Regions from separate parts of the Homo sapiens genome. Here region 1 is linked to region 2. Evidence: promoter capture Hi-C in 16 types of primary human blood cells and fetal thymus (Javierre and others, 2016). All regions are on one chromosome and are shown on one strand. The core of a region is centred on a gene start or on the middle of the fragment in contact, and the rest is flanking DNA. Distances in the headings are between cores, read along the strand shown.

What was found. Contacts are between HindIII fragments. The CHiCAGO score rates a contact against its expected background, and 5 or more counts as called.
Region 1: a fragment that was not itself captured here is called in contact with the fragment with the promoter of GPR87 in region 2 in 1 of 17 cell types (neutrophils); the score reaches 5.3 in neutrophils.

What each region holds. Positions count from the first base shown.
Region 1 is chr3:152,391,029-152,397,292 of GRCh38, forward strand. All of the region lies in intron 2 of MBNL1 (muscleblind like splicing regulator 1), which reads left to right. Among named protein-coding and RNA genes, the nearest start is that of MBNL1-AS1, 120 kb to the left of the region's middle. The HindIII fragment of the contact is 4,446 bases long and covers 492-4,937 here.
Region 2 is chr3:151,311,919-151,318,100 of GRCh38, forward strand. GPR87 (G protein-coupled receptor 87) reads right to left here and starts at 4,902. Exons shown (of 3, transcript NM_023915.4): 1 at 4,668-4,902. The region is part of intron 16 of MED12L (mediator complex subunit 12L); the gene reads left to right. RefSeq lists an enhancer at 4,288-5,487. The HindIII fragment of the contact is 4,276 bases long and covers 4,751-6,182 here.

The DNA.
Region 1 (6,264 bases), core at 1,465-3,964, 1.1 Mb after region 2:
ACAAATGTTCATTTAAATCCTCTTATATAACCTTATCAGGGAGATAGTATAGTTATTCCCATTTTATTGGTGAAGAAACAGAGGTTTAGAGGATTAAGTGCTATGTACAAGGCCGCAGGGCTGGTAAATGGCAAAATTGGGATTTGAACCTGAATACATCTTTCTGCTTTTTGAGTTCCTACTATTAAGCACTCTCTCCTTTTTCAGTTTTAAAGGAATGTTGCAGCATAATATTACACATTAAGTTGCCCTTTCTTAGATAAATTAAAACCTTACCTAAAATGAATAATGATTCTAAGTTTGAACCATGAAATCTTCATAGCAAGGACGGATGTTATGTAACTGCTTAAACTTCTGTTCACAGATTTTTGACACTACCTTTCAAATTTATGACCTTCTTTCTATGTTTTCGTTTTTTCTTCCAGTTCTTCATACCTATAAACCTTCCTCCTTTTGACCTTGTTATTTGCATTTGAAAACTTGGTCCATAAAGCTTTCCTGAAAATCACATGGGAAGCAGTATTTCATACAGCTCCAGAAAACTTTTGGAAGGAAGGCTGACAGTGTTGGGGGCTTAATTCTACATGCTTCTTTATTCTCTGCATTTAGCTCCTGCCTGACATGTGCAGCATATTGCTAAACACATGTGAGACATTATTGTAGTGATATTTCCTATAGAAAACACCTTGGTATAATTCAAGATGAAAAATAGAATATACATGAGAGGTGAAAAGGCAACTTTGATTAGTAAAGTGCTGACATCCCAGTTGGAAGCACTGAGAAGTACATTCAATTGCCTCTGGCTTGCTGAATCTGTCTATCCCATACCCACCCCCATCTCACAGGGCTAACAGGGAAGCACATTTTGAAAATTCTGATGAATGCATTCCAATTCTCTTTTGGTGGGAAAGGCTGAGTTTGCAGGGAATTGGTAGTAAAGTATTGGCACTTTCTTTGTTTCTATAATATCAATAAATTGCAAACTGTCGTTTCTTTTACTGAACATGTGTTTCAAATACAGAGCTCATCATTAAGTCCTGTCATTTTGTGCAAAAAAAAAAAGTATGATTACATTATAGAGAAGCAGTTGACATTTATAAATAGTAAGTAGTGGCATAAAGACTTTTCTCTTTACGTAGTGCAACATGAACAGAAATCTCCGCAAGAAGTACCTGAAGATGGGTCTTAATATTTTTTTAAATATAATCCCCTGCTTAGGTAACATTACACATAGGTTAATGTGTATTTCACTTATTTCTTTGTAATACTTTTATTATCAATTTCAGAGCTCATTTCTGAGACAAAAATTCAGAACTAAAATTGATATTAAAACCATTGGAGTGGTGTTAATGGGAGACAGAGTTAAACAAATTGAGCCTTTTGTACATATTTACATTTCATGTGCTTTTTAAAAACTCAAAAAATGAATGGAATGCTTTTGAAAATCAGCATACTTATTCTACTTCTTCCTCTTTGAATAAACTGCTATCCCAGAATTTCTACTTTTTAAAAGCAGCAACAAGAAGTAAAACAAAACATTCAAAGCCTTGATGTTGAGATTTTGAATAATACATGTCTGTTTTAACATTTATCCTTAACCCCTTTCTATTTTTATCCTCTTTGGCAAAATTATGTAATAGCCTTAACTGGGTGAGCCATAGTCTCCAGATGGGTAAGATATACACAGAGAAGGAAGATATATTACAAAAGCACCTTTTAGAATATTCCATGTTCTGGCAATACAAACACGTTCTTCTGAAAGGTAGCTACTCCCAGTTTTTTGCAGTAATGTCAGGGAAACTTTATATGAGATGTAAAAATATTCCTGAGAAGTATTCTGAGTAGAAAATCCCAAAGGCCTTCTTTTTTTGTTGTTTTTAACAGGAAAACATGCTTGTACAGATGGCTAGTTGAATTTTCTAGCTTTTAAAATGGTGTACAATTTGTTGCGTTGGATCCTAAGTTTCTAGAGTGCTGCTATCTTATTGCTTCAAGGTACCTCCTAAAAGAAGCCCAGAATCTCTTGCCAAGATGCCTCCCATAGGAAGGTACCAGAACTCCTTTACATAAACATCTCTGTTCTCTCACCCAGCCCTCCCTGGCCTGTCTCCTTGACTTCTGTCATTCCTCCCTGAAATCCCTTTTCCATGAATACCTGCTTTCTAGATAGTCCTGAACTGCTGGAAAATAGATATTGTATTCCCAATAGACTGGGAGTAGAAAGGGCCCCTGGCCATTGATGGCTTTTAAATCTGGAATGTAGGTTAGAGCTACAAATTAGCTTGCAGCTACAGTCTATCTTAGAGAATTTCTTGATATCCAAGACTAATCCTAGGTATCAGATAACTTTTAATGGGCATGATAATTTTAGGCCTTTTACTTTCTGAGCATTGAATCTACCCAAGAATAGCAGCAAAGAGCTAAAAGTCTCTGGAACTGTACTGAAACACTGGGTGAGAAAGCCATTGACTTACCTTCTTAAGGAAATGAATGTTACGGTGAAATATGATTCAGGTCTGAGGGAATATCGTTTGACTATTAGTATCCCAGCTTTATTTGTACCTCTTCTTGAGAGTGTTTCTCATGAAGTTACCTTCCATTAATGTCTTCTATAGCTAGCTTTCTTTACCAGTTGGAATTGCATTTTGTATTTCTTTTTCTATCCTGCATCACCCAGCATAATGATAAGCAAGTAGATACCTTATATATTTATTAATGGATAAATATGAGTATTAACAACACATTGTGGATATATGTTCCCCTTTCCTGTGCGTGAGCTATAGTTGGCACAGTGAATTTCAGCATTATGTAGTTCACTAGTTCTTTGTAGAAATTGTTTTCTCAAAGGTAATTTCTTTATCGCCTTTAGTAGGAGATATGAAATTATTTTAAATAATTTTTTCTGAGAACTATACTGAAAAAATAGTGCCTAATTTATTAAGCTATTCCAGTGGTTATTGAGAGTAACCAATTTAGTTATAAATCTATTTTTATCACTGACATTCAGTTCATCCTACATGGTTTTCCAAAACGAACCTACCATTTTAAAAACCAAGATTGTTGGGTAGATTTTCTTCACAATTTCATCCAAAGTGAGAATCTCTGAGACAGCAGTAATATTTTGAGGGCAAAACCAAATTTTTCCAAAGGGTAACAGATAACATTGTTTATAATTTGCAAAATAGTCATAGTCAATTAGTGTGAAATACATATTTTAACTAAATGTGTACTGTGATTAAAGCTATAAGAAGTCTGTCTGACTATTTATATACAGTGAGAAGAGTCTTTCACAGACTGTTTGCTTAATTGCTGCATTTTTAAACACCACTAGCTATTTGAATTTCAGTTTGACACTGTTTTAGTTCTGAATATAGCCTGCCAAATTTGTTTATACGGTACATATGCCTCATGCAGATGTCTCTGACACCTTAATTGTTCTGTGACCTTGTACAAATTATTTAATTTCACAGGATGTCTGAATCCTTGTCAGCAAAGTGGGGAGTAACAGTACTGGTGCTATAGAATCCTTGACAGAATTATGTGAGATCTACTCTTTCCTTTATTCAGCACTCTGTGGCACACTCTAAGCTAGGTGAAACAGGGTGCCTGCCCTCATGGATCTTATTCCCTAGTGCAGGAATTAGTTGATAAATAAACACATAAATAAGCAACATAATTACAGGCATGACAAGTACTATACAGAAAATAAACAGGGACAGGTGTCAGATGGAGCCTGACTCTGGGAGACCTTTAGATGGGTGTTATGTCCAGTACTCTTGGAAGAGCATAAACAATAAATAGTAATTTTCTCCCTTCATCATCCATAGTTAATTTTTCTTTTTTTGTCCCGAGAGGGAGTCTCACTCTATTGCCAGAGTGGAGCGCAGTGGAGCGATCTCGGCTCACTGCAATCTCCACCTCCCAGGTTCAAGCGATTCTGCTGCCTCAGCCTCCCGAGTAGCTGGGACCACAAACATGCACCACCACGCCAGGCTAATTTTTGTTTGTATTTTAGTAGAGACGGGTTTCACCATGTTGGCCAGGATGGTCTTGATCCCCTGACCTCGTGATCCACCTGCCTCAGCCTCCCAAAGTGCTGGGATTACAGGTGTGAGCTACCGTGCCCGGCCTTCAGCTTTTATTTAATTATTATATTCACAGTCTATAAAACAAAAATATGGATAAGTAGTTTTTATCCTGTGAGAAATATTTTTAAAGTTTAAGATTTTGTAGCAGACATGTTATTGCTTCAAGGTTAACGGAGTGACTAGTACATTTTCATTATTTTGTGGCATAATATAAATTATTTTAAACTTTTTGTTTAAATAAAATGCAGGCCAACTGTTGCGCTGTTTATCAAATGATAGTCCTAATTAATATTTGTCTGTTTTTTCTTCTCAAGCATTTTGGTGCTATATTTCACAGAAGACATTTGTGTGCTAGCTTATCTTGCCACCCCACTTGAACAATTTAGGCAGCTGTTTTGTCTTGGATTTTTAGGTCCTATATAACCAGACAATCAGTCATTACTCTTGACTTCTCTTAATGAGCGCAGTCTTTCTGTATTCTTAGGTCATCTTCACTAAGGAGTGTCTTCCTGAAATTCAAGTAGGCCTCAGCAAGAGCATTGGATGGATGGATTATCTTTGCTTGTATTTTAGAGTTCTTAACCTGGCATTTGACGTTACTTTCACTTAACTCTTGCATTAACTCTGAACTTAACCTCCCCTGAACAAAGCCTTTACCCCAAACAGATTGCTTTAGCCACTGTCTGTTGCCTAGCGGGAATGTTCACACCTGTGTGGTTTTAGTTACTGCCATTTTACCTATCAGGCCCTCCTGGCTTTTTTAATTCCTGGGAAGTCAGCTGTGTTATAGAGGAGAGGTCCCCAACCCTGGGCTGCACAGCAGGAGGTGAGTGGCTGATGAGTGGATGAAGCTTCATCTCTATTTACAGCTGCTCCGCATTGCTGGCATTACCACCTGAGTTCTGCCTCCTGTCAGATCAGTGACAACGTGTTGGATTCTCATAGGAGTGTGAACCCTATTGTGAACTGTGCATGCAGGGGATCTAGGTTGGAGACGCTTTATGAGAATCTAATGCCTGATGATCAGTCACTGTCTCCTGTCACCCCCAGATAGGACCATCTAGTTGCAGGAAAACAAGCTCAGGGCTCCCACTGATTCTACATTATGGTGAGTGTTATAATTATTTTATTATATATTACAATGTAATAATAATAGAAATAAAGTGCATAATAAATGTAATGTACTTGAATCATCCCCAAACCATCCGCCACTCCACCACCACCAGTCCAGGGAAGAATTGTCTTCCACGAGGCTGATCCCTGGTGCCAAAAAGGTTGGGGACCACTGTTATAGAAGACATAATGCTCAGACTTGATATCAGACCTGATTTGCTACTGTGTGATCTTAGGCAAATCCTTTCACCTCTCTGAGCTTTAATTTCCTCATTGGCATAATGTAGTTAGTACATTTACTCATATCATCATTTCAGGTTAATTGAATCTGCTTTGAAAGTGCTCCACTCCTAGTCTGTCTTTCCTCTGCATTTTTTCCACCCTGGTTTCACAGCGCACTTCATATTAACATTCATCTATTTTCTGTAATATATCCTATATTAAGCTTTATTGCAGCCCTACCTTGACCCTATTCCACCTTTTCTTCTGTTTTTTGTTTGTTTTTGTTTTGATTTTTGGTAGGTTGTCAGATAACAGAGATAAATTAAGATTCTCAAAAAAGTTTGGGGATTACCTGTTTATTGTAATGAACCATCTTTTCAATTGCTCGAACAGTATTTAGTATAAATGAAGTACAAGAAATGGTCTGTATGAATTAACAATTTCTTTTCCATGGTGGACCCATAGAAATACATTAAAGAAAAACTCATGGGGGTATAGCATGTTCCTAAGTGTAACATTGGGAAAACAACAAAAGGAAAAAAGGACAGAAATACACTCATGGTAAGTAGTAAGCTGGCTGGACAATACAAAGAGAAAATATAATAATGCAATCCTGTTGGCACATGTAATAGGATGTGATGTACTGCCAAAATGGATTGTCTAATCTGAAAGTTTCCCCAGCTTAAAAAAATCTTGGAGATAAGAACATTGGCATTCCATTCTAAGACTTGTTAGGTTTCAAATGATTGAGAATATGTTTATTATTATTATTATACTTTAAGTTCTGGGATACATGTGCAGAATGTGCAGGTTTGTTACATAGATGTACACATGCCATGGT
Region 2 (6,182 bases), core at 3,652-6,151:
GGAGCTGAGGCAGGAGAATTGTTCGAACCTGGGAGGCGGAGGTTGCGGAGGTTGCAGAGGTTGCAGTGAGCCAAGATCACGCTGTTGCACTCCAGCCTGGGTGACAAAGCGAGACTCCGTCTCAAAAACAACAACACAAAAACAATTGATTTTGCAGTTTTTCCCAATTTGTCTTGGAGCCGGTTTATCTAAAAAAGTTTTGAAAGGCCCAGTGATTTATTTTCAGTTTTATTTGTAATTTTGGGGCCTAGCAGGTCTGAGGAGGAACAAGATGGGGGACAGGTAGGTCATCCACCCCGAAAAGAGTATAGCAAATCCTCAAATGCCTACAGTCTAGAGGCAACAGATATTTATGCATTGTTTTCTTGGATCTCTCTTTTTAGTTCTCAGCCTGAGAGCCACAGAGCTTCATACTCTAGTATGTGCAAACAGTCCAAGTATTCTGTTAACTTTTTTCTTTCTTAACTAGATCATAAGCTCCTTTAGTACAGGGACTTCAGATCATTTTGTTTCTGCTGCCCTTTTGGTATACTGGCCTTTGCTTTGGAGGCATTCCGAATCTTGATATAGTCAGTAAAGGGTACCCTCTAGACTCAAGGACTTGGAAAACAAAGTTTCACTTTGTTATATGTCCTCCAGAGAGTTTCTCTGGTGGTCAAGAGACAGTAATATCTTTGACCTGAGAGCCTGTTCAGGCTACAGGGCAAAACCCTTTCTGGGAGCTTGAGAAGTCTAAGTGTCTATCTTGCTACATACAACAACAGTAAAAGAGCTCCCCAAATGCTGGCTAGTATTATTGTGTGCCTAGAAGTGTTCTAAATTACCTATGTATATTTTAATTTATTAAAAGGACTTTGGATTCACATTACAGGTTTGCCACTTACTTGGGCAGGTTACCCAACCCCTCTGTGCCGCCTTCTTCTGTAAAACAGCCCTCATAAGATTGTTTTGAATGAAGTATTACCATAGCATAGACCTTTTATTCAAACTTGACATGTAGTAATAACTCAGTATTGACATGCTACTTGAGTGGGTAGTAAGAATTAGTACTCTAGTTTTTCAGATGAAAAAACCTGAGGCTTAGAGAGAATACTTGGAATACAATATACTTGGGCTATTTGCACATGTTATTTGTTCTTTGAGCAGATATGTGCTGTCGCTGGAGTGCTAGAGCTTGCCCTCATTAACACCACTAATGAGGGGCAGAGCCTGGATTTGAACAGAACGTAAGCCCATCTCAGTGCTGTGCTCCTAACTACCGCTCTGCTACTGCCTGCACAGAAGTTTGGTATTCATGTGCTGATTAGCACCTGATGCCTCCTTTGGGAAAACTACCAAGTTAAAATAGCTCCAACTTGATTGCAGGGGATCATGCACCCAAGTTGGCCATTTATCTACTGTAGTCTATACTATGGTACTAGTATATGGTAAATATACAATAAGTCTATATCATTTTACATATGAAACTACCCACAAAAAGAGGTAACAGCAAATACAGCGTGGTTGACTGTGGGCAGTGGTTCAAGGTCAGAGCTGTGCTCCCTACTGTTATGCTTGTTAAGCCTCAGTTTGCTCAGCTGTAAAAGTGGATAATAGTAATTTATACCTTAAGGTTGTCTGAGTTAAAAAAAAAAATGCATGATAAGGCCAGGTGCGGTGGCTCACACCTGTAATCCCAGCACTTTGGGAGGCCGAGATGGGTGGATCACCGGGTCAAGAGATTGAGACCATCCTGGCCAACATGGTGAAACCCCGTCTCTACTAAAAATACAAAAATTAGCTGGGCATGGTCGTGGGCGCCTATAATCCCAGCCACTTAGGAGTCTGAGGCAGGAGAATTGCTTGAACCCAGGAGGCAGAGGTTACATGGTGGTGGGCGCCTATAATCCCAGCCACTTGGGAGGCTGAGGCAGGAGAATCGCTTGAACGCAGGAGGCAGAGGTTGCAGTGAGCAAAGATCACGCGACTGCACTCCAACCTGGTGACAGAGCGAGACTCCGTCTCAAAAAAAAAAAAAATTGCATGATAAAATATGCAGTAATCTTGTCACATATCAAGCTAGATGTATATGCTAATTATTGTTGTTTTAGTATTAAGGATAGAAGGACAGTTTGTGCCATACGGATCCTATCTAGTACATTAGAAAAGGTCATTTAAGGAGCTTTGCTCTTCTTTTAAAATGATGGAAATCATTAGAAATTACTGTTTAAGAGAAACTATAGAATCATTGATATAAATGACTTAATGTCATGGCTTACACTAAATGGAACTTAATCAGTGCTCTCGCTTAAATGTATTTTAGTGTAATTTTTTAAATGTTTGGCCAATAATAATATTAATGAAACAAAATATGTTAATTAGGTACAAGATAGAGAACAAATATTCTATTCTGCCTGTGTTTGCCATATAAGGAGGGAGAGGATTTCGTAATATTTGTAAGGTCAGAAAGAACCTGTCTTTCACCATTGGCCTGAAGCAGAAGGTCTGAGAGGTGGGTGCATCTCATCTAGTTTTTAACAGCAGGGTCACCTTGCATTTGCTTCTGCTCTTGCCTCCCTGCTTTAGATAGTTACAAGTATAAGAACTGCAGCTGGCACTTGTATTAATACTTGTATTAATGCAAAACTTTCAGCCAGGTAGGAAGAGCAAATAGTACATTCATCTTCATCTTGTAGAGGAAGAATCTGAGACCTAGCGAAGTCGAGATTTGATTAACATCACGTAGCTGGCTAGGGGCAGAATTGGGAAGGTCCTCATTTGTGGCTCTACCCCATTTCCTCTCAAGCATTCCTGTGTGCTTGGTCCAAGCCTTGGGTTCTTTCATTACCAACCCCAGCGTCTCAGCATATCACCTGGATCGTGGGAATCTAGAGATGCAAGGGGCCTCTAATGACCCTCTGATCTAATCCCTTCATTTTACCTGTGAGGAAGGGAAGTGAGCTCCTGGGGAATTCAGAGACTTGCCTAAGTCACACTGATAATATTTGGTACAATCAGCCCTTAAACCCAGGTCATTTTGCTGTGAGTCCTGGGCTTTCTACTTTAAACCCAAACTACTGCCTCTTGCCTGCATAGAGAACATCTACCCTGGAGACTGGGGGATGCTTCTAGGGAGGTGACTTTACGTAGATTTCACCTCACTTCTGTCCTGTCTTCACAACCTTACCCTTTATTGGGCTTTGAGGGATTTTCATGGATTTTCCAGGCTTTTCTTATTTCAGGAGCATACAAGGAACTAATGGCCATTGTGGTCTCCTCTATCTTAACTTTCCTTGGTATTTTCTCAGAGTAAAGAGCTAAGCGTGAAATATTTTGTTGTTGTGGTTCTTAAAGAGAGTTAAATGCCAAGATATTAAGGAAGAAAAGCAGGCAGACTCTGAAGAGCACAAACAGCACAACTCTAAATAAGAACATTCCTTTTAACTTAGTCTTCCTTTTCCCACCCACATCTCTGAATGCAGTAAATCCTCTTAGCATGTTATCTCTGGTTAGGGCATTTTCTCAGTGTCTTCATGAAATAAAGATTTTCTGGCGGGATACTTTCTTTTTATAGGCTGTATCCTTAAATATGAAATTCAGCCATCCATCTGCTCTTCTAGGCCCTTGTCCTTAACCCATGTATACCTGCAACACATTTCAAGTAGAGGTCAGAAACAAGAGTCTGAGGATGAGATGTTGCTGAAGGATTAAGAGAATATGCCTCTTTGATCCCTAACTTCATGGAGACAGTTAATCTCAATTGGCAGAAATAATAAATATCAACAGGGTGTCTGGCTTTTTTCCCCCCAGTATAAAGTAATATAGAACCAGATTTGTTGCTGTTCATATTGCTAGTAAATTGGAGAACAATTATGAAAGAAATCTCTTGTTAAAAATGTTAATATACCTAAAATAAAAGCAGATTCAACTTGAGAATGTGATGTAAAATTCCATAGCAGATAAATCTTAAAATAAGAAATCAAAAAGTCACTCTACTTTAGGCTCATCTATCTTTTAAAAGTCCTTATTAAAATTTAAAAGAACTGAGATCTCCATGCTTGCTTCTTGTTTTCCTCATTGCAGTGAAAACTTCCCAAACAGTTTGAATGTGGAACAACAGTAAGCTGTTCCTAACCTGTTTGTCAGTCACTGGGCAGTTTTCTCAGTGCCTTTCCTGACATGTTTTAACATGACTTCTCCAGGGATCAGAATGAGGATTGCCCTGTTCTTTGTGGTACAATGAAAAGACTGAGATTATTTTATCAAAATGAGACAGTTGGGAAAGAGAAAAATCTTTGTCTCTCTCTTTAAAAAAAAACAATACGGATAAACGATTATGAAACAAATTTTAAGTTTTGGGTCCTGGGAAACAATTATAAGAGACTTTGACTTTTACTCATCTAATAAAGTAAATGTGGTTTAAAAAAAAATGTACTAAATAGGAGTGATTGCCAAAACATTGTTTCTACTTTTGAAGGCACAATATGTAGTTTATATTTCTGCCTGCCTGAGCTGGAAACAGTTGAAGCTTCATGGCTCACAGTGGTGCCTCATATCTTACTGTCAGCATTCTAATTTCTAGTTTTTCTTCAAACCTCAGAGTTAAGCAGAAGTATAATTACAGTTTTTAATCATTGCTGTGTCTTATCAACCACGGCTTTTAAGAAAATGAAAAATTTTTCGTTTACCTTTCATTGTGGTGGCTGGCTGTCCATTCACCTCATACGGTGTCTTCAAGTTGAAACAGGTTTCTTGTCTCTAATTAAGAATAAGCTTTGAAACTAAGGTCGGCAGGGAAGTGGATTTTCTGGTAAAGCATGAAAACGAAACATCTCCCCTACCAGACAAGGTAGGTATCTCCCTTACCCCTTTAGAGATTGTCCTTTGGGGCACCCTTTCAAATTCTCCTGCCAGGCGACTACTGGAACAACTTGCTCTCTTGCTAATGTAAATGACTCATAACTAAGAGTAGGTGAGATTTGTCGACTGGGGAAGAGTATTTCCTGAACCTGCAGGAATCAGATGGTGATTCACCTGAAGGAAACACAGAGGGCTGGAGCTTAGACTGCCAGAAGTCTGCTTAAGGAGTGGGGGATGAAGTCTCGGGTTGGGGCCTACTAACTCATCAGATCCAATTTTTAGGTCATTTTTTTTTTCCAGCCTCCTATTGCTATCTAGAAAACATGTATTTGCAGCCTTCCTGCCAATTAAATTTTGGATTAAAAGAAATAAGAATATGCTTTATGACAGATGAATTCTTTGAAAATATTATTCTACATATTATTTAAAGAGTATTGTTGTAATTGATAACTTTGGAAACTTGTAGTCTTATGAAACTAATGAAATCTGTAGACATATTTTTACACATACACAATAGACATATTTTTACACATACACAATGATAAGTATTCAAAATATGTTAAATTATTCAGGGGCTGGGTTCACTGACTCCTTTGAATGCTGACCTTTAACATAAAACAATTTATTTTATTGCTTTAAAAAAGCATCCAACAATGACAAATTTATATAATCATATCACTTTTTTTTTTTTTTTTTTTTTTTTTTTTTTGTGAGACGGAGTCTCACACTGTTGCCCGGGCTGGTATGCAGTGGCATGATCTCAGCTTGCTGCAACCTCCACCTCCCGGATTCAAGTGATTCTCCTGCCTCAGCCTCCTGAGTAGGTAGGATTACAGGTGCCCACGACTACACCCGGCTAATTTTTTGTATTTTTAGTAGAGACGGGGTTTCTCTATGTTGGCCAGGCTGGTCCTGAACTCCTGACCTCATGATCCGCCCGCCTCAGCCTCCCAAAGTGCTGGGATTACATGTGTGAGCCACTGCGCCCGGCCACTTTTTCTGATTTGTAAATAATTTTCTTGCTTTCAGATGAGAATCTCAAAGATTCTGATATTTTCTTGAATGCAACATTTAAATACATTTAAAAAAATAAAATTTCATCAAATGGAATCAAAACCTGTTATTGTGGATGAAGATAAATGAAAATAATCAAAGGTGAAAACTTTTTTGGAGTGAATAAATCTATAATAGGTATTACTTAGTGTTTACTTGTGTCTTAAGGAAATAATGTGTACGTACTAGTTGATTTTCCTTATGTTTTTACAGAAAAACAAATGGGTGTTTAACTTAAAAATCAAGAGTTGGGTATCAAAATTATATTTTTTGTATTTTCCTATCTGCTT